7 separate regions of the Homo sapiens genome follow, and regions 1, 2, 3, 4, 6 and 7 are each linked to region 5. The links are contacts of gene promoters, found by promoter capture Hi-C in blood cells and fetal thymus (Javierre and others, 2016). All regions are on one chromosome and are shown on one strand. The core of a region is centred on a gene start or on the middle of the fragment in contact, and the rest is flanking DNA. Distances in the headings are between cores, read along the strand shown. Region 1 overlaps CPEB1 (cytoplasmic polyadenylation element binding protein 1). Region 2 overlaps CPEB1-AS1 (CPEB1 antisense RNA 1). Region 3 overlaps CPEB1 (cytoplasmic polyadenylation element binding protein 1). Region 4 overlaps CPEB1 (cytoplasmic polyadenylation element binding protein 1). Region 5 holds the start of HOMER2 (homer scaffold protein 2). Region 6 overlaps CPEB1 (cytoplasmic polyadenylation element binding protein 1). Region 7 overlaps CPEB1 (cytoplasmic polyadenylation element binding protein 1).

The links. Contacts are between HindIII fragments. The CHiCAGO score rates a contact against its expected background, and 5 or more counts as called.
Region 1: a contact is called between a fragment that was not itself captured here and the fragment with the promoter of HOMER2 in region 5, in 8 of 17 cell types (naive CD8 T cells, total CD8 T cells, activated CD4 T cells and 5 more). The highest score is 8.8, in naive CD8 T cells.
Region 2: a fragment that was not itself captured here is called in contact with the fragment with the promoter of HOMER2 in region 5 in 1 of 17 cell types (total CD8 T cells); the score reaches 5.1 in total CD8 T cells.
Region 3: a fragment that was not itself captured here is called in contact with the fragment with the promoter of HOMER2 in region 5 in 10 of 17 cell types (non-activated CD4 T cells, naive CD4 T cells, naive B cells and 7 more); the score reaches 9.1 in non-activated CD4 T cells.
Region 4: a fragment that was not itself captured here is called in contact with the fragment with the promoter of HOMER2 in region 5 in 16 of 17 cell types (total B cells, naive B cells, erythroblasts and 13 more); the score reaches 11.8 in total B cells.
Region 6: a fragment that was not itself captured here is called in contact with the fragment with the promoter of HOMER2 in region 5 in 14 of 17 cell types (total CD8 T cells, activated CD4 T cells, erythroblasts and 11 more); the score reaches 10.3 in total CD8 T cells.
Region 7: a fragment that was not itself captured here is called in contact with the fragment with the promoter of HOMER2 in region 5 in 3 of 17 cell types (total CD8 T cells, activated CD4 T cells and total CD4 T cells); the score reaches 5.7 in total CD8 T cells.

What each region holds. Positions count from the first base shown.
Region 1 is chr15:82,629,083-82,632,400 of GRCh38, reverse strand. All of the region lies in intron 1 of CPEB1 (cytoplasmic polyadenylation element binding protein 1), which reads left to right. Among named protein-coding and RNA genes, the nearest start is that of CPEB1, 17 kb to the left of the region's middle. The HindIII fragment of the contact is 7,050 bases long and covers 1-3,318 here.
Region 2 is chr15:82,649,604-82,653,043 of GRCh38, reverse strand. It overlaps CPEB1-AS1 (CPEB1 antisense RNA 1), which reads right to left. Exons shown (of 4, transcript NR_046096.1): 2 at 3,103-3,273; 3 at 2,898-3,015. Among named protein-coding and RNA genes, the nearest start is that of CPEB1-AS1, 3.6 kb to the right of the region's middle. The HindIII fragment of the contact is 480 bases long and covers 1,339-1,818 here.
Region 3 is chr15:82,565,478-82,568,881 of GRCh38, reverse strand. The region is part of intron 4 of CPEB1 (cytoplasmic polyadenylation element binding protein 1); the gene reads left to right. Among named protein-coding and RNA genes, the nearest start is that of RPS17, 27 kb to the right of the region's middle. The HindIII fragment of the contact is 428 bases long and covers 1,667-2,094 here.
Region 4 is chr15:82,548,361-82,551,804 of GRCh38, reverse strand. It overlaps CPEB1 (cytoplasmic polyadenylation element binding protein 1), which reads left to right. Exons shown (of 13, transcript NM_001365242.1): 10 at 2,147-2,345. Among named protein-coding and RNA genes, the nearest start is that of RPS17, 9.6 kb to the right of the region's middle. The HindIII fragment of the contact is 1,847 bases long and covers 529-2,375 here.
Region 5 is chr15:82,951,023-82,954,129 of GRCh38, reverse strand. HOMER2 (homer scaffold protein 2) reads left to right here and starts at 1,410. Exons shown (of 9, transcript NM_004839.4): 1 at 1,410-1,599. The coding sequence starts at 1,595. RefSeq lists an enhancer at 1,660-2,160. The HindIII fragment of the contact is 1,453 bases long and covers 772-2,224 here.
Region 6 is chr15:82,583,004-82,586,438 of GRCh38, reverse strand. The region is part of intron 3 of CPEB1 (cytoplasmic polyadenylation element binding protein 1); the gene reads left to right. Among named protein-coding and RNA genes, the nearest start is that of RPS17, 44 kb to the right of the region's middle. The HindIII fragment of the contact is 1,699 bases long and covers 1,088-2,786 here.
Region 7 is chr15:82,610,660-82,613,896 of GRCh38, reverse strand. All of the region lies in intron 3 of CPEB1 (cytoplasmic polyadenylation element binding protein 1), which reads left to right. Among named protein-coding and RNA genes, the nearest start is that of CPEB1, 35 kb to the left of the region's middle. The HindIII fragment of the contact is 1,016 bases long and covers 775-1,790 here.

The sequences.
Region 1 (3,318 bases), core at 523-3,022, 320 kb after region 5:
GATGGGTGACAGTTAAAACACAGTCAAAATTTAATTTCATGTACAGAATTACTAAAAATATTGTATAAAATTAACTTCAGGCTATGTGTATGAAGTATATATAAAAAATAAATGAATTTGGCTGGGCGCAGTGGCTCACGCCTGTAATCCCAGCACTTTGGGAGGCCAAGGTGGGCGGATCATGAGGTCAGGAGATCAAGACCATCCTGACTAATGTGGTGAAACCCCATCTCTACTAAAAATACAAAAAAATGAGCCGGGCGTGGTGGCGGGCGTATGTAGTCCCAGCTACTCCAGAGGCTGAGGCGAGAGAATCCTGTGAACCCGGGAGGCGGAGCTTGCAGTGAGCCGAGATCACACCATTGCACTCCAGCCTGGGCGACAGAACGAGACTCCGTCTCAAAAAAAAAAAAAAAAAGAGAAAAAAATAAATGAATTCTGTGTTTAGACTTGGGCCCTATCCCTAAGATAGGTCATTATGTATATGCAAATGTTCCAGCTTCCAAAAAAAAAAAAATCCAAATCTGAAACACTTCTTGGTCATCTCAGCATTTCTGATGAGAGATACTGAACCTGTAGTGGATTCAGCCCTTAGGTCTATTTGAATCATATCTCTTGCCTTTTAATTAAGCATTTTAAGTCAAATGATTAAGAGGAAGAGTTAGGGGGTACCAGGAATAGAAGGGCCTGGAGTCTTCAGAGAAATAGTTGCCATAGGTCTTTGGTTCACTTAATGAGCCAATAGATCCTTCCTCAAGGATCCCTGTGGTGGCCTCTGAATAATAATAATGATACGACTGATAGACAGTATTCGTTGGTTCAGCACATAATTACATGTCAGGCCCTATGCTAAGTACTTTATGTGCATTAATTCACAAAAAGCCTTATGAGATAGTATTACTTTTATCCCTATTGTACACAAAGGAGAGTAGTAGATCTGTTCGCCATCTGACAGTCCTGGCTTTGATTTTTTTTTTTTCCTTCCAAATTGGTTAAGGCAAACATTGGTAATTATAAGATGAAACAGTTTGGAATATACATTGAACACCTCATTCACTTTTATTATAATGTCATCTTAAGCTAGAGCTCTGGCTTGATGTATGTGAGAGAAGGGGAGGGAGGCATGTCAGATATCATTTGCCTTGATTTGGGAAGGTGTGTATGTTCCTAACAGGATTAGGAGTGGGGCAGGGTGACCAGACACATTCCTAAATTAGATTTTTTTTTCAGACTCCTTGAAATAGTAAGATTTCCTTCCTCTCCTAAGGAATACCTTTCTCCCAGACTCCCAAGTCTGCATCTGTTCCCTAGACTACTGTGGTACTTTCTCACTAATCCTTCTGCCACTTATCTGTCATGTAGTTGCTGGTGGTCTCCTTCTAAGACTCACTTTGTTATTTACTTGCCTTTAGATGTGGCCAGGATCTGGAATCCATGTAGTCCATATATATATAGTACTTTTATTACAGTAATTAAAAGCTAGGTTAATTTTTGTGTATTGAAAAGACACAATTTTGTGTATTGAAAGACAATGCTGACTCCTTAATTTGGCATATGAGGCTTTTCCAATTTTCTCTCCTATACCTAATGCTGTACCACACTGGACCACTTTTGATAATGCCTCTCTACTCTCTTGTGTTCTTTAGAACTTCCTCTTTACCCCCATTTCCAGGCACATTCTGTCCCTCCAGGCCACCTTGGCTTGGAGGACAATGTACATTTACAGCACGTTGTAGTCTGTGTTGTGGATGTTTACAGGATCGGGTCTTAGTTCTTTTTCTTTCTTTTTTTTTTTGAGACAGGGTCTTGCTCTGTCACCCATGCTGGAGTGTGGTGGCACAATCTCTGCTCACTGCAACCTCTGCCTCCTGGGTTCAAGCATTCCTCCTACCTCAGCTTCCTGAGTAGCTGGGACTACAGGCATGTACCACCATACCTGTCTAATGTTTTGTATTTTTTGTAGAAACAGGGTTTCGCCATGTTGCCCAGGCTGGTTTTGAGCTCCTGCCTGCCAAAAGTTCTTTTCCAGACTTCAAAACTTTATTTTGGTTTAGTCTGTGTCTAATCTGCTGCCCCTTGGGGTGCTCACTATAGAGAGCAGGCAGTCGGCTAATGTTTATTAGGCAGTGAAGAATGAAGCATGTAGCCTTAAGATAATGCAGATTGTGCTAGGCAATGGCACGTGCCTGTAGTCTCAGCTACTCAGGAGGCCAAGGTGGGAGGAGCACTTGAGCCCAGGAGTTTCAAGTTCAGCCTGGGCAACACAGCGAGACCTCCTCTCTGCAGGTTATAAATCTTTGCATCTTAGCCTTCATGAAGTTGCCTTCCTGAAATTGAGAATCAGCTTAGAAATCTACAGTTGTGAAAAGGGCCTTGTGTGTCACTGGATTTAACAGTTCTCAATGGCACCACTCTAGAGAGCTTGGGAAAACAACCTTGTAGGATTGTGTATTTTGGTCGTCTTCACAGTTTGCAGAGGGTACCAATCTTCAAGAACTTGAGGCTGACGTGAGGCTCAAGTTTGTCCCTTTAAGGTCATCCTGCAGAGTTGGTAAAACTGTAAATGCTCTTGGTCATTCTCATGCTCACTTGGATTTTAGTAGGCCAAACAAAATGACATTGGGCCTCTTCTTGTTTTGTTTTGATGTGACCAGCTTATGAGATATTAAGTGCCAGTTTCATTACTTGGTCTGTTTTTGTTTTCCGCAAGATAATTGAGGATAATAGAACTGATGAGGCAGGCTCCCCTTAAAAAACTCAATCTGTCAACCAATATTTCATTGCTTCTTATGTTGGGCATTGGCTGTGGAGAGTGAGGGAGACCGGAGTGAAGAATGGTACCTACATTTCTGCTTTGGGCATCTGGTGGATGGTGGTGTTATTTACCGAGATAGGGAATACCAAAAGAATAGTTTTTGTGTAAGGGTTCATGATTTTTTATATATATATATAGGAGTTCTTTTTTCATTCGGTAATGTCTTACCCATCTTCTCATGCCAGTTAATAAAGTTGTATGTACTAATAATGACCACATAGAGTTGTATAACTTAATCAGTTTGGGTGGTTTTACCACTGTTGGTACTTACCTCTCTTGTATTCAATAATTAGTGTTTGCAGATACAAATTAGCAGCTACTGTATGCCATGCAAAATGCTTTACATATGTCATCAAAAAGTTGGTATCCTTTTTCCATTTCACAAATGGGGAAACTGAGGGATAGAGGTTAAGTAACTGTGATATCACACAGCCAATAAATGGCAGAATGAAAATTTTTAAACAGCTGTATTGACATAAAATCTACATACCCTAAAGTTCACC
Region 2 (3,440 bases), core at 329-2,828, 300 kb after region 5:
ATTTATTGATCCACTCTCCTGTTGGTGGGCATTTAAGATTATTTTATTTTGTTTTGTTTTTGTAACTATTAACAAAACAGCTACAGACATTTTTACTCATGTTTCTTAACACGTATGAAAGTTTCTCTAACATATTTTCCTAGGAATGGAATTGCTGGGTCATAGAGTATACACTTTTTCAAGTTAACTAGAGAATCCAAATTGCTCACCAGAGTTGCTATACTTCACATCAATAATATTTCTAGCAGCTTTATTCATAATAGTCCCCGAAGTGGAAAGAATTCAAATTCCAATCAATAGGAGAATGCAGAAATAAATTATGGTGTATCTACACAATGGAATACTACTTAGCAATACAAAGGAACAAACTACTCCTACATGCCAACAACATGGATGGATCTAACAGGTATGTTGAATGAAAGAAACCAAAAATTATATGAAGTCTAGAACAGGTTAAATGAATCTGTAATGAAAAGCAGTAAGGTAACGGTACCTTGAGGAGGGAGGTATAAAGTGGGAAGGGGCAGGAAGGAACCCAGTGGGGGTTCTGGAGAGATTCTATGCCTCCATGCGGGTGGTGGTTACCTCGGTATACACTTAAGATTTGTGTACTGTGGCCGGGCGTGGTGGCTCACGCCTGTAATCCCAGCACTTTGGGAGGCCAAGACAGGTGGATCACAAGGTCAAGAGATCCAGACCATCCTGGCTAACAGGGTGAAACCCCGTCTCTACTAAAAATACAAAAAATTAGCCGGGCGTGGTGGCGGGCGCCTGTAGTCCCAGCTACTCAGGAGGCTGAGGCAGGAGAATGGCATGAACCCAGGAGGCAGAGCTTTCAATGAGCCGAGATCTCGCCACTGCACTCCAGCCTGGGCGACAGAGCGAGACTCCATCTCAAAATAAATAAATAAATAAATAAATAAATAAAAAAGATTTGTGCACTCTATGCATTGCCTTCTCTCCATTAAAAGATATGAAACATAAAAGCACACACCAAAGTAGCTGAATCAGTTTACGCCCTCACTAGCAGTGATCCTGCTACTGGGACAGTGAAAGTTGATCATTTTTTTCCATTTGAAAAGTGTGGCACGGCATCTGATTGTGGTTTCATTTGCATTTCCCTGGTTACTGATGAGGGTGGGCATCTACTGATGTTTCTTGGCCATTTGGATTTTCACTTGTGTCAACTGCCCATTCTCATCTTTTGCCCATTTTTCTGTGGAGTTGTGTTTTTTCCTCATTGATTACAGAACTTCTTACATAGTCTGGAAACTAGTTCTTTGTAAATACATGGATTGGAGATACCTTCTTCCAGTCTATGGCTTGTCTTTTCAAGCTTTAAACAATATCTTTAGCTGGGCGGTGGCTCACGCCTAATCCCAACACTTTGGGAGGCCGAGGCGGGCGGATCACGAGGTCAGGAGTTCGAGACCAGCCTGGGCAACATGGTGAAACCCCGTCTCCACTAAAAATACAAAAATTAGCCGGGTGCGGTGGCAGGTGTCTGTAATCCCAGCTACTCTGGAGGCTGAGGCAGAAGAATTGCTTGAACCCGGGAGGCTGAGATTGCAGTGAGCCGAGATCGTGCCACTGCACTCCAGCCTGGGCGACAGAGCAAGACTCCACCTCAAAACAAACAAACAAACTCTTTTAGTAAACCAAAGTTTTTAATTCCAGTGTGGTCAAATGTATTGTCTTCCTTTATATCCTGTGCTTATTGTTCCAATCTTATTTTTCCAAGTTTACAAAATTCATCCACGGGCTGAGGTAAAAAAAAATTCTCCTATATTTTCTTCTGAAAAAATTCTAAGTAAAGCTTTTCAGAATTGTATTTTTAACTTACTTTTGTGTACGATGAAAGGTGGGGCCAATCCACTCTTTCTTTTTTTTTTTTTTTTGAGATGGAGTCTCGCTCTGTCACCCAGGATGTAGTGCAGTGGTGAGATCTCGGATCACTGCAAGCTCCGCCTCCTGGGTTCATGCCATTCTCCTGCCTCAGCCTCCCAAGTAGCTGGGACCACAGGCGCCCACCACCATGCCCAGCTAATTTTTTGTGTGTATTTTTAGTAGAGACGGGGTTTCACCATGTTAGCCAGGATGGTCTCGATCTCCTGACCTCATGATCTGCCTGCCTAGGCCTCCCAAAGTGCTGGGATTACAGGCATGAGCCACCGCGCCTGGCCCCAATCCACTTTTTTATCCCACTTAAAAGGAACTTGAAAAAACAAAGAACATGGTTTCTTCTGTACAGAGCTTGGCAAAACTTGAGCAGAGACTGTGTGTGTCTACCTTGTGGTCTTGAGTTCCTGAGTGAATTCCTTTTCTTATCTTTTGCAACCAGGAAATTATTTTCTCCCATCAAACTTCTCTCTTCTTTTAGCTCTCTGCCTCCTGCAGAAGCACTGAACACTTGAGCATATAAAAGACTATAGGGTCCCTCCTGTTTCCCTAGTACACATATTTAAAATGTAGTCCAGCTAATTATATAGTTGGACTTAAAATCAGTATTGTAAGTCTGGGGCTTGACTGCAGAGACAGTGCCAGGCATAGCTGGGCTCAAAGGCTGTTTGTTGACTGGGAGAATAGATAATGCTGCCTATTTGTTTCTGCTGCTTCTGCCAGTGACCAGCTGTGGGGACTTGACCAAGTCATTTAATAAATTCACCTCTGTCACTTTCCACACCCTGCCCTGTGGATTATGGTCACCTTCAGAGGGACTGTTCTTCCTGTATGACCTGCAGGCCTAGCCAAGTCCAGGTAGGGAACAAGGACTTGCCCACACCTGAGGTCATGACTGCATTTGGTCAAAGTTACCTCTTCTCTCAACATCTGCAGTCAGCTCTGGGGTCATTCACAGATAAGCACACACATAAGCATGCTGGAAGTTTTATTCTCACCTGGTTAAGACTTCAGGCTCTGAAACCAGAAGACTGCCTTGGTTTGAGTCTTTGCTCTCACACTTTTAGCTGGGAGTCTTTTGGCAAGTTACTTAACTTCTTTGAGCTTCAGTCTCATCTGCAAAATGAGATAACATAGGTAAAGCACTCAAAACTTTCCCACGCGCACAGTAAGTGGTCAGTGAAGACGAGCTATTATTATTACCTGCAACAGAAAGTTTAGGGAGAGAGATTTTAGGCAGCAGAAGTTTCTGTTCCAAGTCTCTTGAAAGATGCCTTCATTTTCTTATGGTTGACAGTTTTGAAATATGACAGGGCCTCCAGACACCCGCTCCCTTGGGCACTATTCTGGGTTTCAGGTTCTTATCTTGCTCAGCTTTTGGGTCAGAGAGGAGGAAACGATGTCAGGGATCACAAACTGGCAGCCGGTGAGCTGCATGGGGCCCCTGGACATGCTGGGCTTGGCTCTTTTCATTTGAATTAATAACCAACATTAAAATTCACATTCAAGATTTCACTTAAAAAAGTACTTCCAGCTTTTCT
Region 3 (3,404 bases), core at 631-3,130, 390 kb after region 5:
AGGGCTGTTGGCTAAATTCATCTGGCAAACGTCGAGCATTCGTTGTGTGCAGCACTGGAAGTACAACATTGATTAAGATAAAATTGTTACCTTTAAGAATCTCCGTGGCTATCAAAGGAAAACAAATGAGGAGGTATACCGAGTGCTGCATCTGCTATGATAGGGGCTTTCATTTTTTCCCCTAAGGATTTTCTTCATTGTAACAACCTTTCATTGGATTCTTAGCTTTAGGCTGGTACATGGATACCATTCTCCAGGGGCCAGAGTACTTCTGCTATCTAGATTTCCTTGGCCTCAGAGTCCTGCAAGAAGACCCTGGGATAGAGTCTGTTTTTGAGAATTGTACCTGCAAGGCCTGCATGGGCTTGGATGTAACACTTTGTGGGGTCCTTCTCTTCTAGACTGTGCCTACCCTGAGGCACTATCCCTTGATGGGGAGGAAGACTTTGGGGGCAAGATGAGTGTTATAAGTGCGTTTTTCTCATACCCCAGTGCTACCCTTTCTCATGTCCAGGGCTACCCTTGTCCTGCTTGCAATGTCTTAAGATCTGTAGTGGAACAGAAGGGCTGTGGAAACTGTCCTCAGTATCCTGGAATGGGGCATGGAGTGACTAATAACCACCATTTATCGACTAATTTTTGTGCTAAGTACATCACATGATTTTAATGCTTGTACAGATGAGGAAATAGGCTCATGGAGGTTACAAAGTGCCCAAAGTGACACAACTCCTGGAAGGCTCAGAATTCTAACCCAGGTCTCTGGTTACAAAATTCATATGCTTCCTGTTACACCTGTGGTCCTGTTAGCAGAACTCTAACATATTGGGTGAGAAAACTTAAAGTAACCATATACTACTATAGGGGCTATTCAGCTAGAGGTGATGTGCTCCCTTGATGAGATCTCTGAAGGTGAGGGCATATGGTAGACAGTTCCAGCCCCATCTTGATCCCTGAGTCTCAGCTTATCAGCTGTACCACCCGCTGGATTTGTCTTCCTGCCTTCCCCCTTGCGACTCTTTTGTGTGCAGCATTATGCAGCAGAAGAGTGAGGTGACTGAGACTACTGTGGGGGACCTGGAAACAAGGACTCTCTTAATGATGCCTTGTACAGAAGCCCAGTGGGCAGACCAGATGTGCAGTCTAAGGTTGCCAGAGGACATGTCTGTTTTTTGCCACTCCCCTTTAGAAGTCTCTTGAGGACTAACCTGTTCACACTCTGGTTTTCTTTTCTTTTCTTTTTTTTTTTGAGATGGAGTCTCACTCTGTCGACCAAGCTGGAGTACAGTGGTGCGATCTTGGCTCACTGCAACCTCTGCCTCCCGGGTTCAAGCAATCCTCTGCCTCAGCCTCCTGAGTAGCTGGGATTAGAGGTGCCCACCACCACACCGAGCTAATTTTTTTTTTTAAAGTAGAGACGGGGTTTCACCATCTTGGCCAGGTGGGTCTTGAACTCCTGACCTTGTGATCCACCCGCCTCGGACTCCCAAAATGCTGGGATTACAGATGTGAGCCACCGTGCCTGGCCCACACTCTGGTTTTCTACCCTAACTGCTAATCAGTGAATGGAATGTTCCCTGTGCTGTGTCACTTGCAGGCTCCCCATTGATCTGCAGGCTACATCAGCCTAAGATGAGTGGGGAGTCTTAAGCAATTTTCATCTGAAGCTTCTTCCAAACAACCATTCTGAGGCGACATTCAGAACGGGATTAGGTCTCTCTTATGTGGAACATGGACTTCCTCGGCCCAACCAGGTCTCTTGTAAATCTTCCTCAACTCCCAGTTCTCCAATACTATATTCCCAGCAGTACAACAGTGCTTGGCTAATGGCTGTCTAATACATATTTTTTGAATGAATGATGAGTGCTGAGCCACTGTGTTTATCCTGGTTGTTTTTTAACTGCAGAGTTCAGACAAGGTCTCTCCCATTCTTCTGCCTCCTGCTTGTGTTGATTTAGCTGGATGGACAGATTCTTCAAAGATCAGTATCTTGGGCCCTGTAGCTTCTAGGGGACGGTGATGTAATTATACAAAGTTTTCATCATACAGTGGAGCATGAGCTGTATTGTGGAGTCAAGTAGTCTATTTGGGAAAGCTTTCAGTGCAGAGAGGAGGGAGAACCTGGGAAGCAGTGTGGCCAGGGAGGCCTCCTAGGTGAGAAAGAAGTTGAGGTGGTTAGTGACAGGGGCAGGATGTGTGCTGACCTTACAAGGGACATGAATATGTCTTTTCTACAGGTAATGGAACTTGCCTGATGATCAAGACTGGGAGTTATACTGGGGAGAAGGGCTGTGTTTGTCACTAACTTGAACTTGTGGGATCCACAGTCGGGGGGAAGTCCACACTCTGTTTACCGCCACAGTAGAGATATGGTATAGAGTTGCAGATTTGGGGTCACAGGCAGAGTGGTCTGTTTTCATACATGGAATGAATGCTACTCTCCCCCCTTCCTATTCCTTCAGAGAGATCCTGAGTAAGCAACCTAGAACCAAGGATGGTGATAGGGAAGAAGGGTTCCAGGTATACGGCCTTATATCACAGGCTAGAAATAATGGCTCCTGGTCTGGATTTTCCCCGTTAGATTTTTTCCCCCATTAGACTATTCCCATTAGATAACAAATATCTGACCATCATGTCTTGGGGCTAGTCTCTCCTTCAGCTAAGCTCAAGCTCAGATGGTCTTATAATGCAGGCATTCAGTGCCAGGCTCTTGTTGCCATTGCTAATGCTGCCATCACACTCCAGGTGCCTTTGTACTCTTGGGGAAGGCTTCCGAAAATTTGAACAGTGACTCAGCTGTAAAACCGACAGGAGCTGGCATAGAAGGGTGAAAGTAGAGAAAATTAACAATCAGTCTAAAAATATCACTGCTGATTTGGTCTCTTATACCCTCTGAGGTAGCATTAATGAACTGGAACCCTCTGCCAGGTCCTCTCCTCCCCATGACTTCCCTGAGAGATGTCTGTAGCTGATTTCCTGCCAGCATGTGAATGGGGATGGGTACGTCTGTTCTAGGAAGAGCACAATGTCTTACCCATTTTTAGAAGATAGGAATTTGCTGGACACTTGGACACCAGAGCTGGAGGCACTTGGTAAACCTCAGACTTTCCATGATCCCTTGTGTTCTGGAGGCCAGGAAAGAACAGAGCAAAGAGGTCAGGGCCTTGGCCGTTATTGGAGATTGACTCTAGGACTTCTCACCACCCCTCCCCCTCCTCTAATCCATCTAGGTTAATACTTGACATTTGGAATTATGAAGTTGTGTGCCCCATGATGGGGAGTGGACTTTGAGATGAGACACTGGCCTGCATTATAAGGGACCTGTCATTTCCACTGGATTTTAGTTTGTGTGGCTTAAAGAGAATGCCTTTCCAGTTAGGTATGCTCGTGGCTTTGAATATAAATGG
Region 4 (3,444 bases), core at 203-2,702, 400 kb after region 5:
GAATAAAGATCCCCAGGTGGTTCTAGTGGGTAGTGTTTGAGAACCACTTGTCAAAGCAAGTTTTGAGCTCAGGAATCAGTGCGGTGGTAAAATCGGATTTGAGAGCACACAACTTTTGTGACATTGGACTAGATATTTAATATCTCTGAAACTTTGTTTCCTCTTCTCTTCTATAAGATGGGAAACTAAAATGCCTATTTTAGTAAAAAAGATCAGTGGTTGCCAGGGGTTTAGCAGGAAGGGATGAAGAGACATAGCACAGAGGATTTTTAGGGCAGTGAAACTATTCTGTATATGGTGGATACATGTCATTATACTTTGGTCCAAACCCATAGAAGGTAAAAGAAACACCAGGAGTGAACTCTGATGCAAACCATGGACTTTCGGTGGGGATGATGGGTCAGTATAAAAAAATGTTCCACTCTCATGCGGGATCCTGATAGTGGGGAAGTCACGCAAGTGTGGGGGCAGAGAGTATTTGGAGAATCCCTGTACTTTCTGCTCAGATTTACTGTAAACCTTAAAGCTTCTCTAAAAAAATCTATAGGGTAAGAGGAGAAATGCCTATTTTATTGGGATGGTCACATTAGATTTAAAATAAATCCATGTAACAAAGCTGGCTCTTGTTCTGTGTTAGAGAGAGGGCAGGCTCATCCTCTGGCTGCCCACAGTGACCCACAGCTTCCCTACCTTCTCTGCTTCTTTATTCTCTGGAGCTTGTGTAGTCTTCCCACCTTAGTATGTTCTAGGACTTAATTAACATGCTCCTTTTTCCTCCCCTCCTGCTTTCACAACCAGAGATGGCCATATGCATATCACAGAGCCCTTCCCCTTCCTCCTCAGTGCCCCTGTAGACACCATCCTGTCTCCCATTCCCTCCCATCACCTTACAGGGATTTAATCTTTCTTTGATTCACTGGCTATAGGCTGATGCAGTTCTCCTTCCTCTCTACTTTTCTTTTTCCTTTGTGTTCCTCTCCCCGCCAGCACCAACATAGCCAATATAGCCAATCTTTGACTCCCTTCTTCTTTTCTAGTTCAGATAAATGACTCACTTTGTGGCTTCTCTCACCTTTAGACCCAGATTCACCTTTCTAGCCTCATGTCCTACCTGAGCCTCACCTTCCTGTGGGATCCTTCTTCGGGATGTCCTGTAATCCCAAACTCTTTTGTGGGCAAAATTGGCTTTTTCATCTTCCAGTGAAATTGGCTCCCCTCTTGTAACTTCTGCCAGGTCCTCTCATCCCAAGACCGTGTAGGCCCAGCACCTACCAGGCCTGATTCTTCCTTGCTTGCCCATCCTGCTTATGCTGTCTGAGTACTGCAGACTCTTCTGTTGAAGAATCTCTTTGGTCTTGGCCTGTTCTCTGCTCGTTGCCACCAGCCTTGTCCAAGTCTTAATCACCTGTCCTTTGAAACTACTGTTTTTGCCTCCTTGCTGGTTTCTGCCTCAGATCTCTTCCTGCTTCAAGACATATTTTTAGATCTTCACTTCATTCTGGACTCCTCCACCTGCTCTACAAGGTTTTGTTCCAGGTTCAGGAGATTCAGAGGCAAAGGACATGGTCAGCCCCAGCCCTTTAAGACTCCAGGGATCTTGTATGTGACTTTCTACCCAACCTCTCGCCAGTCATTTCCACTGCTCTGGCACAAACCCTCTGAAGGCTAGGTTGGGCCAGTAACCATCTCATACAAATATCGTAAGCACTCCCACCCCTCTGTCCTTCAGGATCCTAGCCTTTAATTTCTCTGTGAGTCCTTCCTTTCTTGAGGACTTCAGATTATGCCCTTTTCATCAGTGTCCACAGCCCTTTGTTGGAACTACACAGTTGGAGGTTGAAATAGAATGCTGGGCTCCTGGGTTTGGCCATGTGGTACTTTTTTGCTTACTCTCCAGCATGAGTGAGTACTGTGTCCACTTCTACCATTCTGGACACATGGACTCAGTAAAATTCAACTCCAGTTGGGGTGGAGTCAGGGTGGTTTATTGGACGCCTGTGTGCCTGAGATTGGGCAACAGCACCTTTTCACCCCTGTAAGGGCGTTAGCTTAGCTTCAGTATCTCCAGAGCACGTACCTTGCCGTGCAAGCACCTCTCTCTCTGTGGCTCTCTGCCAGGGCTGATACACCTTTGGGTGGTTTTCAGGTGCAGGTGATCCCCTGGGTATTAGCCGACAGTAACTTTGTCCGGAGCCCATCTCAGAGGCTTGACCCCAGCAGGACGGTGTTTGTCGGTGCTCTGCATGGAATGCTAAATGCTGAGGCCCTGGCAGCCATCTTGAACGACCTATTTGGTGGAGTGGTGTATGCCGGGATTGACACAGATAAGCACAAGTATCCCATTGGTAAGTGTCCCACTTCTGTGTGCGAAAGCTTGGTTGGCCCCTGGGAGTAGACCAAGATTGTGATACTTCCCCATGGGAGTGAGGAGAGAGGCCTGACCCAGGTCTGCAGATCAGCATATACCAGCACCATAATATCTTTTTCTAGACAAGTCACGAGTACTGGCCCTTCTGTATCTAGCCCTCTACCCACCATCTCCCACGCAGTGGGAGAAAAAGCTATTGGAGACTACAGGAGGTGATAAGAAGTGAGAGTGAGGTAGGAACTTTGTTGGAAGCTCAGAGTTCACAGCGAAACCAGTTTGGAACAGACAACAGGTACTATTTCATGAAAAGGCTGCAATTCTCTGAACTTGCCTGGAGTTTTTTATTAAAAGTTCTTGAAAAGCTCTGGCATTGTCTAAGGTCAGAGACCAGGTCAGGCTGGAGGAGGACTTTCTGAGTGAGTCAGGCAACAGAGTGTGGCCTGTGCTTTCCTAACTCAGAAGTCTGTGGGCCTAACCACTAGGTTTTGATCAGCTCCTCTGAGAAAGGAGGTCAATTCGCCAGTCCTGGCAAAATGTCAATGATGAGGTATGGAGGTGGAGCAGAGCCTGACCTCTGTGATTAACATGTGGCTAACCCACCTCCCCAAATGCTTAGTCTTCACACCCACACTGAATCTGGTCAGGAAGGAGCACCATGTACTCACCAATACTGTGCAGCAGATTGAGAACAGGGACTTCAGAAGCCCCAGGAGCGGAGGAGGAACTTGGCAGGATGGGGCTTCTTCCAGCTCTCTTAATAGGTCTCCAGAGTGCCTAAGGGCTAGGAGAGGTTCAGTTCAACTGCTGGGCTTACCCTTCAGACAAGTGTTCTATCTGCATCTTGGCTTCCACTCTGAATCCTTTAACCTTAACCTATGCTCTACCTGCACTGAAGGAGTCCCTTATCTTTCCTTCCCATCTTGATCTGCAAATTCTTCCCCCATTCCTGAATGGTTCACGCTAACATGATCTCCACTGTCAAATATGGTACGAATATGGTAGCTACCAGCTAAATGTGGCCCCATTGAGTTTTGGAAACACAGCTGTTGTCACATTTGGAAATAATATTATTAACA
Region 5 (3,107 bases), core at 161-2,660:
CCAAGATTATTTTATTTTTTACAAACTTATTTTGTATTTATTTATTTATTTTTTTGAGACAGTCTGGCTCTTTTCACCAGGCTAGAGTGCAGTGGCATGATCTCGGCTCGCTGCAACCCCTGCCTCCTGGGTTCAAGCGATTCTCCTGCATCAAGCCTCCCGAGTAGCTGGGAGTAGCTGGGACTACAGGAGCACGCCACCACACCCGGCTATTTATGTATTTAATTAATTAATTTATTTATTTTTTGAGACGGAGTCTCGCTCTGTTGCCCAGGCTGGAGTGCAGTGGTGCGATCTCGGCTCACTACAAGATCCGCCTTCCAGGTTCACGCGATTCTTGTGCGTCAGCCTCCGGAGTAGCTGGGACTACAGGCGCCTGTCTCCACGCCCGGCTAATTTTTTTTGTGTGTGTGTATTTTTAGTAGAGACGGGGTTTCACCGTGTTAGCCAGGATGGCCTCGATCTCCAGACCTCGTGATTCGCCCGCCTCGGCCTCCCAAAGTGCTGGGATTACAGGCGTGAGCCACCGCGCCCGACCTGTCCCTTGACTTTTTTACTGTCCTGAGATGCCAGGCTTATGTGGGCGGTGTGTTCCCAGCAGAAGATGATCCCGTGGAAGTCCCGGGGGATGAAGGTTAGGTTAGTCCCAGTGCCAGCCTTTGGTAGAAACTCAGGACCTGATAGGTAGAAAGGCGACGAAGAGAGCCTGCTCTTCTTCAAGTTCTACTTTTGCCATCCTAATTCCCCTCGCTCTAAGGATAAAACCAAGCTTGATGAAGCCGCCTTAAAACTGCCCCTTCAAGTGGGAGCCCTCATCTCATTTTTATCCAGGAAAGAGCCCAGAGCATCTGCCGCGGCCTGTAGGCTCTTCTCTGCCAGGCTGGCTTCCGAAATTTCACGGTGGCGGGTACCTTAAGGCCACTCGGCCGGGCAACTGGCAGGAAGATGAAGGTGGGCTTTAAGGAGGAGCACAGCTATGCCCATCTCAGACTCTGGAGACCCGAACGAACTCTAATCTGAATGTGTGACCTTGGGCAAATCACTTACCCTCCCCAGGCCTCGGTTCCCTTATCTGCAAAGTAAAGGTAGCCCTAAAGTCCCCGCCAGGTGTGAATGGGACTTTAAGTCCATCAGGCAGGATGTTGATGGCACTGCGCCAGGGCCCCGGGTCGGCGTGGGGCGGGGGCGCGCCAACGCGGGGCCGGCACCGAGGACTGGGTGGCCCGGGAGAAAAGCGGCGACTGCGCGGCTGCGCGGGGGACGGTGCACACAGTGCTGCGCCCCCCGCCTCTTGGCTCGCTGCCGCGGCCCGGGGGCCACGAGGTTACGTAAGGAGCCGGGCGGGGGTAGCGGCTGGGGAGGGCGGGGCGGGCACCGCCCCAGCGCGGCCGCCCAGCCCCCGCCCGCCCGCGCCTGGCGGCGGTGGCGGCAGTGGCAGCAGTGGCAGCCGCGCAGCCCCGCGGAATGGAGCGGCGCCGGGGCTGAGCCGGGCGCGCACGGGCCGCCGCATGTGCCGCGCGGGGAGCGGCTGCCGAGCGGGCGGAGAGCGAGCGCGAGAGGCCCCGTCGGAGCGGCCGCCGGAGCAGCGCCGGAGATGGGGTGAGTGAGCCCGCGCCGCGCGCTCTCCGCGCGCCCCTCCGGAGGGACTGCGGGGCCGCGGCTGGCGTAACCGGGCTCGGAGCCTCCCGGCGGGCCGGCCCCCGCCTCCCCAAGCCGGAGCGAGCGCACACTCTGCGCCCGGGAGTCTGGGGCCACCTGACCCGCGCCCTCCGCCGGGGCACGCGGACACCCAGCAGGGGCACCCTGGCCTGGGCGCGGAGCCCGTGGCCCTTCCCCTCCCATACAGCCCGGGCACGGGGGCACCTGACGGGGACCGGTGCCCTGGCCGGCCTCCTGCCTCGGCCATTCCGCGGTCTCTTCGCCCCTGGGCGCAGTCAACTCCAGGGCCTGTGTGAGTCTAAGCAGTTTGTCGTTCTCCACGTTTGGATTTATTACAAGCAAAATGGAAATCGAAGTTTTCCTGGAAATAATCAAATAATAATAAACCTCCAGCGTAGGAATAGTGGACTTTGGATCTGCTTTGAGATGCTGAAGATGATGGAAGTCTATAAGGAACCTAGGTGAGGCTTCAGTCTTTGAAACAACTGAGTAGATGCTCAGGAGGGAAGTTGAAATACTCTGTCGAAGTGACTAATGCTTCTGAGTATATAAAGTAATTTAAGCTTTCCCCTCGGCGTCTCTCTGAGCAGTAGGCTCTGTGAGTCTGGGAGCCACTGTGCTAATAGCACAATAACTCCTTACATCTGCTCACTCTATTTGGGCACACGTTGACGGTTTGCCATACGTATTCAGGGGACACTTATGTCCACTTTACAGATGAGGAAACTGAGGCACAAAGTGGTTCGGTGACTTCCCCCAGGCTGTGTAGTTGATGAGCATTTGTGTAGCAGGGGTGGCCTTGCCACTGCCTGACGTGGGCATGGAGGCGGGTAAGTGAACCAGAATTCCTAAATCTCTCTGTTCCCTGCTGCTGAACCCAGCATTCTTCCAACAGCCCTTCGCAGGACTCAAATGCTTCTGCTCCAAGGGTCTAGAGATCTTGCTTTCCTGTTTGGGATGGGTGGGGCCTGGGAAGGCAAGAGTGCAGTGGAAGGAGCAAGATTGTCCTGGTGCCCTGGCTCAGCCCCCCTGGGTCAGTGGCTTTCTTGCACCGTACTCCAGGTTAAGTTTCTGGAGTCATTTTGCCTGGTGAGTCTTAGCCATGGGAGCTGCAGAGTGTGTGAGGGGATCAGAGGCAGGCCAAGAGGAATTTTGAGGAATGGAAGTGTGAGGGCTGTGGGCCAACATGAACTGGACATGACAGAGGTGGGTGACAGAGAGGAGGAGGCGAGATGAGCAGCGAGGGCTGAAGAAGTGTGCTTACATTTAGGAGATTTCACATGAACAGCAACTGTGGGTGATTTTACCCAGAGGCACCCAAGTTGGCAGGCCGTATTTCTGTAACATTTCCAGTGAGTCCTCAGTGGACTGTGAAAAGGCTGATCTTTGAGCAGTGAGAGCCTTTGAGGTTCTCAGATTTCATACTTTAAAAAAATGTACAGGGAAAA
Region 6 (3,435 bases), core at 688-3,187, 370 kb after region 5:
CTTTTAACATAGTGCTTAGAAAAGTATAACAAAATTATTTTTAGAGTATTCTTTCTTTTAGGGTATTTCTCTTTCTAGAGGACAATAAGTACTGGCTTATTGATGTAAAGGAAAAGCCACAGTATAAGAACTCATTCTTAAAGAGGGCAAAGGATATAAACTGAAAATTGATAGCTAGTGGCTTTTTTTTTTTTTGTATCTGAAAAAAATGCTTCAACCTTCCAATCAAATTAGATTAACATTCCAAATGAGGTTAACAAATATCTGAAAGGCATACTTACCCAAGGAAATTCTAACTACTGTTCCCCTATTAGGCCAGAAACCACCTTACATACTTTTGTATCCTGATGTCTGTTTCCTTCCTAGCACCTTGCTCACAATTATACTTTATCACTTACACCATTATCAGGTTTTTCTCTACCACTACAATAGTAAACCCAAAAAGACAAGAGCTGTAACTTTTTTTTTTTTCTTCACTTATATCCTGGTTGCCTAGCTAGTGCCTGACACTCAAGATTCTCATTTATTAAGTAGTGTATTTTTTAACCTATCATATTGGCAGAACTTAAAGTTGAATAGTACCAGTGTTGGTAACAGTGTTCACAAATGCATAGGAAATGGTACAAAAGGAATATCTCAAACTGTTCATTCAGAGAAGAGAGTAGGATTGAGGACAAGGAACGCTGCCGAGATGTGAAAGTGATCATCTTTTACTTATTACTTGCATGCTATTTTAAAAAACAAAATGGAATTTTACAATATAATTGTATAAAGGGCATGGTGGGGGAAGGGCTCGGGTTTTGAATGAGATGAGTGCTTAGCTTGGTCAAATTGCTTCACCTGTTTTGTGCCATGGCTTTAATGCTTGTAAAAGGGATATAATGCCTGTCTTCTCCATGGGGTTGTTTTGAGGAATGTGGTGATAGTTGTAAGTTGCCTAGTTCTTCCTGGACTTCAAAAATAAGTTTTCTGCTCTTTTTCTCCCTTGAAAAGTGAGAATGTGATGTTTCATTTAAATTTTGAAAGTCTTATTCTGCATGGTACCACCCCCATCTGCTGGAATGTCCAGACTTTGCCGCTGAAAGCTTAACTGTTGGTTGTGTCTTGATCACAGTCTGTATTACTTCCACTTTGGAGAATGTGGTCTAGTTTCCAAACGTAGATATGTTGCATCATTTTGTCTGGAGAATAAATGAGTACATTTATGGGGGTAGAGGGAACTATGCAGAGATCAGCACTTAAGGCTTCTGGAATTAGTACTGGGGGGAGGGTCTTCCTACTGTGAAATAAAGGGCTTCCGCTAAATGCCCTCCAAAGTCACTCTTATTTTTAATGTTTTGTGGCTTATTTAAATTTATGATCCTAATATCATTTTGTCATTGAACTCCTGATGTCAAATTTGAAATCTAATATGGGCTTTTATCTGCAAAAACTACTCAAGTTTATTTAGGGGATGTTGTCACCTTACCCAGTTTAATAGCTTGCATTTTTTTTCTTGTTACAATGTGTTCACTGTAAAAAAAAAAAAAAAAAAAGCAAATTAGGAAAAAAAAATTATGTCATCTTACTACTGAGAAATAACTATTGTTAACATTTTGGTGTATCTCTCCAGTTTTTTTTTTCAAACGTGTATATTAAATATTTTGAACACACTATTTGCCTCTTTTATCTTTGTGTTAATTTTTTATATCCCTTTTCAAGGCTACATAGCATTTTACTGTGTAGATAGATGCATTATGGGATTTTTTTTTTTTTTTTTTTGATGGAGTCTCGCTCTGTCTTGCCCAGGCTGGAGTGCAGTGGCGTGATCTTGGCTCACTGTAACCTCCTCCTCCCAGGTTCAAGCGATTCTCCTGCCTCAGCCTCTAGAGTAGCTGAGATTACAGGTGCCCACCACCACGCCTGGCTAATTTTTGTATTTTTAGTAGAGATGGGGTTTCACCATGTTGGCCAGGCTGGTCTTGAACTCCTGACCTCAAGTGATCCACCTACCTTTGCCTCCCAAAGTGCTGGGATTACAGGTGTGAGCCACCGCACCCAGCCTGCATTATGGGATTCTTAACCTGGGTACATGGATAGAATTCAGGGGGTCCAATAATTTAGACAGGTAAAAACTTGTATCTTCACGTTCAGTGATGTTTAACTGAAACGTAGCTTTTTTTTTTTTTTTTTTTTTTTTTGAGACGGAGTCTCGCTGTGTCACCCAGGCTGGAGTGCAGTGGTGCGATCTCCACTCACTGCAAGCTCTGCCTGCCGGGTTCATGCCATTCTCCTGCCTCAGCTTCCTGAGTAGCTGGGACTGCAGGCGCCCACCGCCATGCCTGGCTAATTTTTTGTATTTTTAATAGAGACTGGGTTTCACATTGTTAGCCAGGATGGTTTCTGTCTCCTGACCTTGTGATCCACCTGCCTCGACCTCCCAAAGTGCTGGGATTACAGGTGTGAGCCACCAAGCCCAGCTGCATTTCTTTTAACTGTAAGTTTAGGCAACAAGTCACAATATTAGCAGGACCTAATAATTTGGTATCAATAGGATGATCAGACAATTCATATTGATTCCTTTACAGGCATTGTACATACCTTGACATTTATTTACTATTTCAATATTATTACTATTTTATATGTTTTGAAACATTTTTCTTAGAAGGTTTATTGGTTTTAGCAGACTGCCAAATGGTTCATGATACAAAAAAGGTTAACCTCTGGCATTCAGTTTTCGTATTTTGGAGTTTGTTTAAATAGGTGCCTATTTTATACACTTATAAGAAGTACCTGAAGTTAAAGCTTTTGCCTGCATCTGTGATTATTTGGACATAGGATAAATTTCTAAAAGTAGTATTTCTTTATCAAAGAATAAATCTTTTGAAGCTTTCAATGTTTTTGTCAGATTGCTCTCCAGAATGTTGTACCAATTTACCCTCTATATGGAAATACCCTGCCTTCCTGTTTTAAATAACTGGCTTTTATATTATGTAGATGCAGTCGTGATTGGCACTGTAAAGGGTCTCCAATTTGATGTACTGTTTAAGGAACTTCTGCAGACCCCAATTTGAACAGTGTAGTGTCAGGTAAAGTAATGTTTCATTGTGTTTTGGTTATACTAGTTTTACTAAAACTAGTTGTTACCTACAACCTAGATGGCATGTTGTATTCAAGGACTCTGAACCAGAGTCTTCAGGATGGCGTGCTTCAGAACTCCCCCATACCATAAGCAGTAGATTGGATGATGCTAGCCTTGAATCAGCAGTCGTCTTTTTTGCTCTCCATGGGTAAGAAGTAAAATTATCGCCTTTGAAAATAATATATGCACATAGCAGCGAAATCTTAGAAACACCCGAATGTGAAATTGACTTTCTGCTGAATAAGTAGCAGATTGTGGAGAGAGTAGTGGGGAGGGTGAGGGAGTTAGTGTTAAGAATTAAACTCCTACAGCAC
Region 7 (3,237 bases), core at 33-2,532, 340 kb after region 5:
CGGGCTGTCCCAGGGGGGCATTGAGGGGGGAGCGGGGCGGGGTGGTAGAGTTCCAGGCTCCCATCCAGGGTGAGTGTCTCTCTCCCCGGGGGGAGCTTGTTTCCAGTCTTAGGGGAGGGGTTGTGAGTGAACTTCTTAGCATTTCTCCTTTAAATATGCTGAAGTTGTGAATGTTTTTTATCTGATTAAGAAAGTTCTTTTCAGACTTTGCCAAGAGGCTTTTAAAAAAAGAAAATCTGCAGGATGCAGTGGCTCATGTCTATAATCCCAGCACTTGGGGAGGTTGAGGTGGTTAGAGACCAGCCTGGGCAATGTAGTGAAACCCCATCTGTACAAAAGTATGAAAAGCCGGGTGTGGTGGCACGTACCTGTAGTCCCAGTTACTTGGGGCTGAGGTGGGAGGATCGCTTGAGCTCAGGAGGTGGAGATTGCAGTGAGCCAAGATCGTGCCGCTGCACTCCAGCCTGGGTGACACAGCCAGACACTGTCTCCAAAAAAACAAAACAAAACAAAAAAACCCCCAAGAAAACAAACATAAAATCATGAATGTTATTAAATTATATCAGCTTTTCTGCATCTATTCATTTAACCTTTCTCCTTTATTCTATAGATGTAGGAATAACATTCAGGAAAGAATACCAAAGTAAAGCCAACTTCGCATTCCTGGAATTAACTCAAGTTGTTCATAATATATTTTATTTAGTATATTGTTTGGATTTCATTTGTAAATGTTGTCTTCAGGATTTTTGTATTCATGCACATAAGAGATAAGCTTGTAATTTTCTTTCCTTAAAATATCCCTGGTGTCAGAGTCGTTAGCTTCTTGAAGCAAATCATTAGCTTCTTGAAAAGTTTTTTTTTTTCCTCGCTGTTCTTGAGAAGAGCTTGTGTGAAATTTATAATAGTCTTCCTTAAATTTTGATATAATTCATTGCTGAAGCCACTTGGGCCTGGAGTGTGTTTTTGTTTGTTTTTGTTTTTTTGAGGAACAGTTTTTAAAATGTGGATTCAGTTTTTTGTTTGTTTGTTTTGTTTGTTTGTTTGTTTGTTTGTTCTTTTTTTTGAGACAGAGTCTCACTATGTTGCCCAGGCTGGAGTGCAGTGGTGCAGTCTTGGCTTACTGCAACCTCCGCCCCCCAGGTTCAAGCGATTCTCCTGCCTCAGCCTCCTGAGTAGCTGGGATTACAGGCGCCTGCCACCTGCCCAGCTAATTTTTGTATTTTTAATAGAGATGGGGTTTCACCATCTTGGCCAGGCTGATCTTGAACTTCTGACCTCATGACCCACCCGCCTTGGACTCCCAAAGTGCTGGGATTACAGGTGTGAGCCACCTTGCCTGACCCAGTTTTTAAAATACAATTATTCAAATTTCTGTGTTTTTTTTTTTGTTTTTTTTTTTTTGGACAGACTCTCGCTCTGTTACCCAGGCTGGAATGCAATAGTGTGATCTCAGCTCACTACAACCTCTGCCTCCCGGGCTCAAGCGATTCTCCTGCCTCAGCCTCCCAAGTAGCTGGGACTACAGGGGTGCTCCACCATGGCTGGCTAATTTTTGTATTTTTAGTAGAGATGGGGTTTCACCATGTTAGGCAGGCTGGTCTCGAACTCCTGACCTCAGGCAATCCACCCGCCTCAGCTTTCCAAAGTGCTGGGATTATAGGCATGAGCCACCGCACCTGGCTCAAATTTCTATTCCGTCTTCTAAGTTTTGCTAAGTTGTGTTTTTCTAGGAATTTCTCTGTTTCATTTAAATTTTCAAATTCATTGGCATAAATGTTTATGTAAAAGCTTCTTCTGATGTTTTAGAATTTCCAGTTTTTATTTTATCTTATTTTTTTGTATTTTTTTTTAGTGGAGACAGGGTTTCACCGTGTTAGCCAGGATGGTCTCGATCTCCTGACCTCATGATCTGCCCACCTCGGCTTCCCAAAGTGCTGGGATTACAAAATTTCCAGTATTTCTTAACATTACGTTTGCTTTTTTTTGTCTGTGTTACTAATCTTTTTTTTAAAATAAACTTTTGGCTTTGATCCCTCCCTCCCCCGATTCTGTTATACATTTCTTTTATGTGTCATTTATTTTTTTTCCTATTGTTTTCTTTGGGTTTGATTTACTGTGTGTTTTTTTTAAACTTATTGAGATGAAAATTATTAGATCATCGTGTTTTTGTTTTTTGGGGTTTTCTTTTTTTTGAGACGTGATTTCTTGGGCTCAAGTGATCTTCCTGCCTCAGCCTCTTGAGTATCAGGGACTGCAGGTGTGTGCCACCGTGGCTGCTGGCTAATTTTTATTTTTATTTTTTTGTAGAGATGGGGTCTTGCTATGTTGGCCAGGCTGGTCTTGAACTCCTGGTCTCAAAGGGTCCTCCTGCCTCAGCCTCCCAAAGCGTTGAGATTATAAGCATGAGCCACTGTGCCTGGCCTACTATTGCCATCTTAACAATATTAAGTCTTCTAATGCATGAATTGGGGATTTTTTTTGTTTTAATTTATTTCAGTGATTTCTTACAGTTTTCAGTGTCCAAGTCTTGCAATTTATTCATAAGTATATTTATTTTTCATGCTATTGTAAGTCAAACTGTTAATTTTATTTTCAGATTGTTCATTGCTAGTGTATAGAAATAGAGCTGGTTTTTGTACATGGATTTTTGTGTGTGTGATTTCTTAGGATTTTTTACATCTAAGATCATGCCTTCTGGGTGTATCATCTATAAAGATAGTTTTACTTTTTTTTCCATCTAGATGCCTTTTGTTTCATTTTCCTTCCTAATTGTGCTGGCTAAAATCTTCAGTACAGTTTTGAATAGAAGTGAAGAGAGCAGACTTCATTCACCATTAAATATGATGTTAGATGTGGGTGTTTTTGTAGGAGCCCTTTATCAAGTTGAGGATTTTTTTTTCTTTTTTTCTTTTTTTTTTTTTTTTTTTTTTTTTTTTTTGAGACTGGAGTCTCACTCTGTCCCCAAGGCTGAAGTGCAGTGGCGTGATCTTGGCTCACTACAACCTCTGCCTCCCGGGTTCAAGCAATTCTCCTGCCTCAGCCTCCAGAGTAGCTGGGATTACAGGTGTGCGCCACCATGCCAGGCTAATTTTTGTATTTTTAGTAGAGATGGGATTTCATGATGTTGGTCAGCCTGGACTCCAACTCCTGACCTCAGGTGATCCACCGGCCTTGGCCTCCCAAAGTGCTGGGATTACAGGCGTGAGTGACCGGGCCCGGCCTGAGGATGTTTTTTTC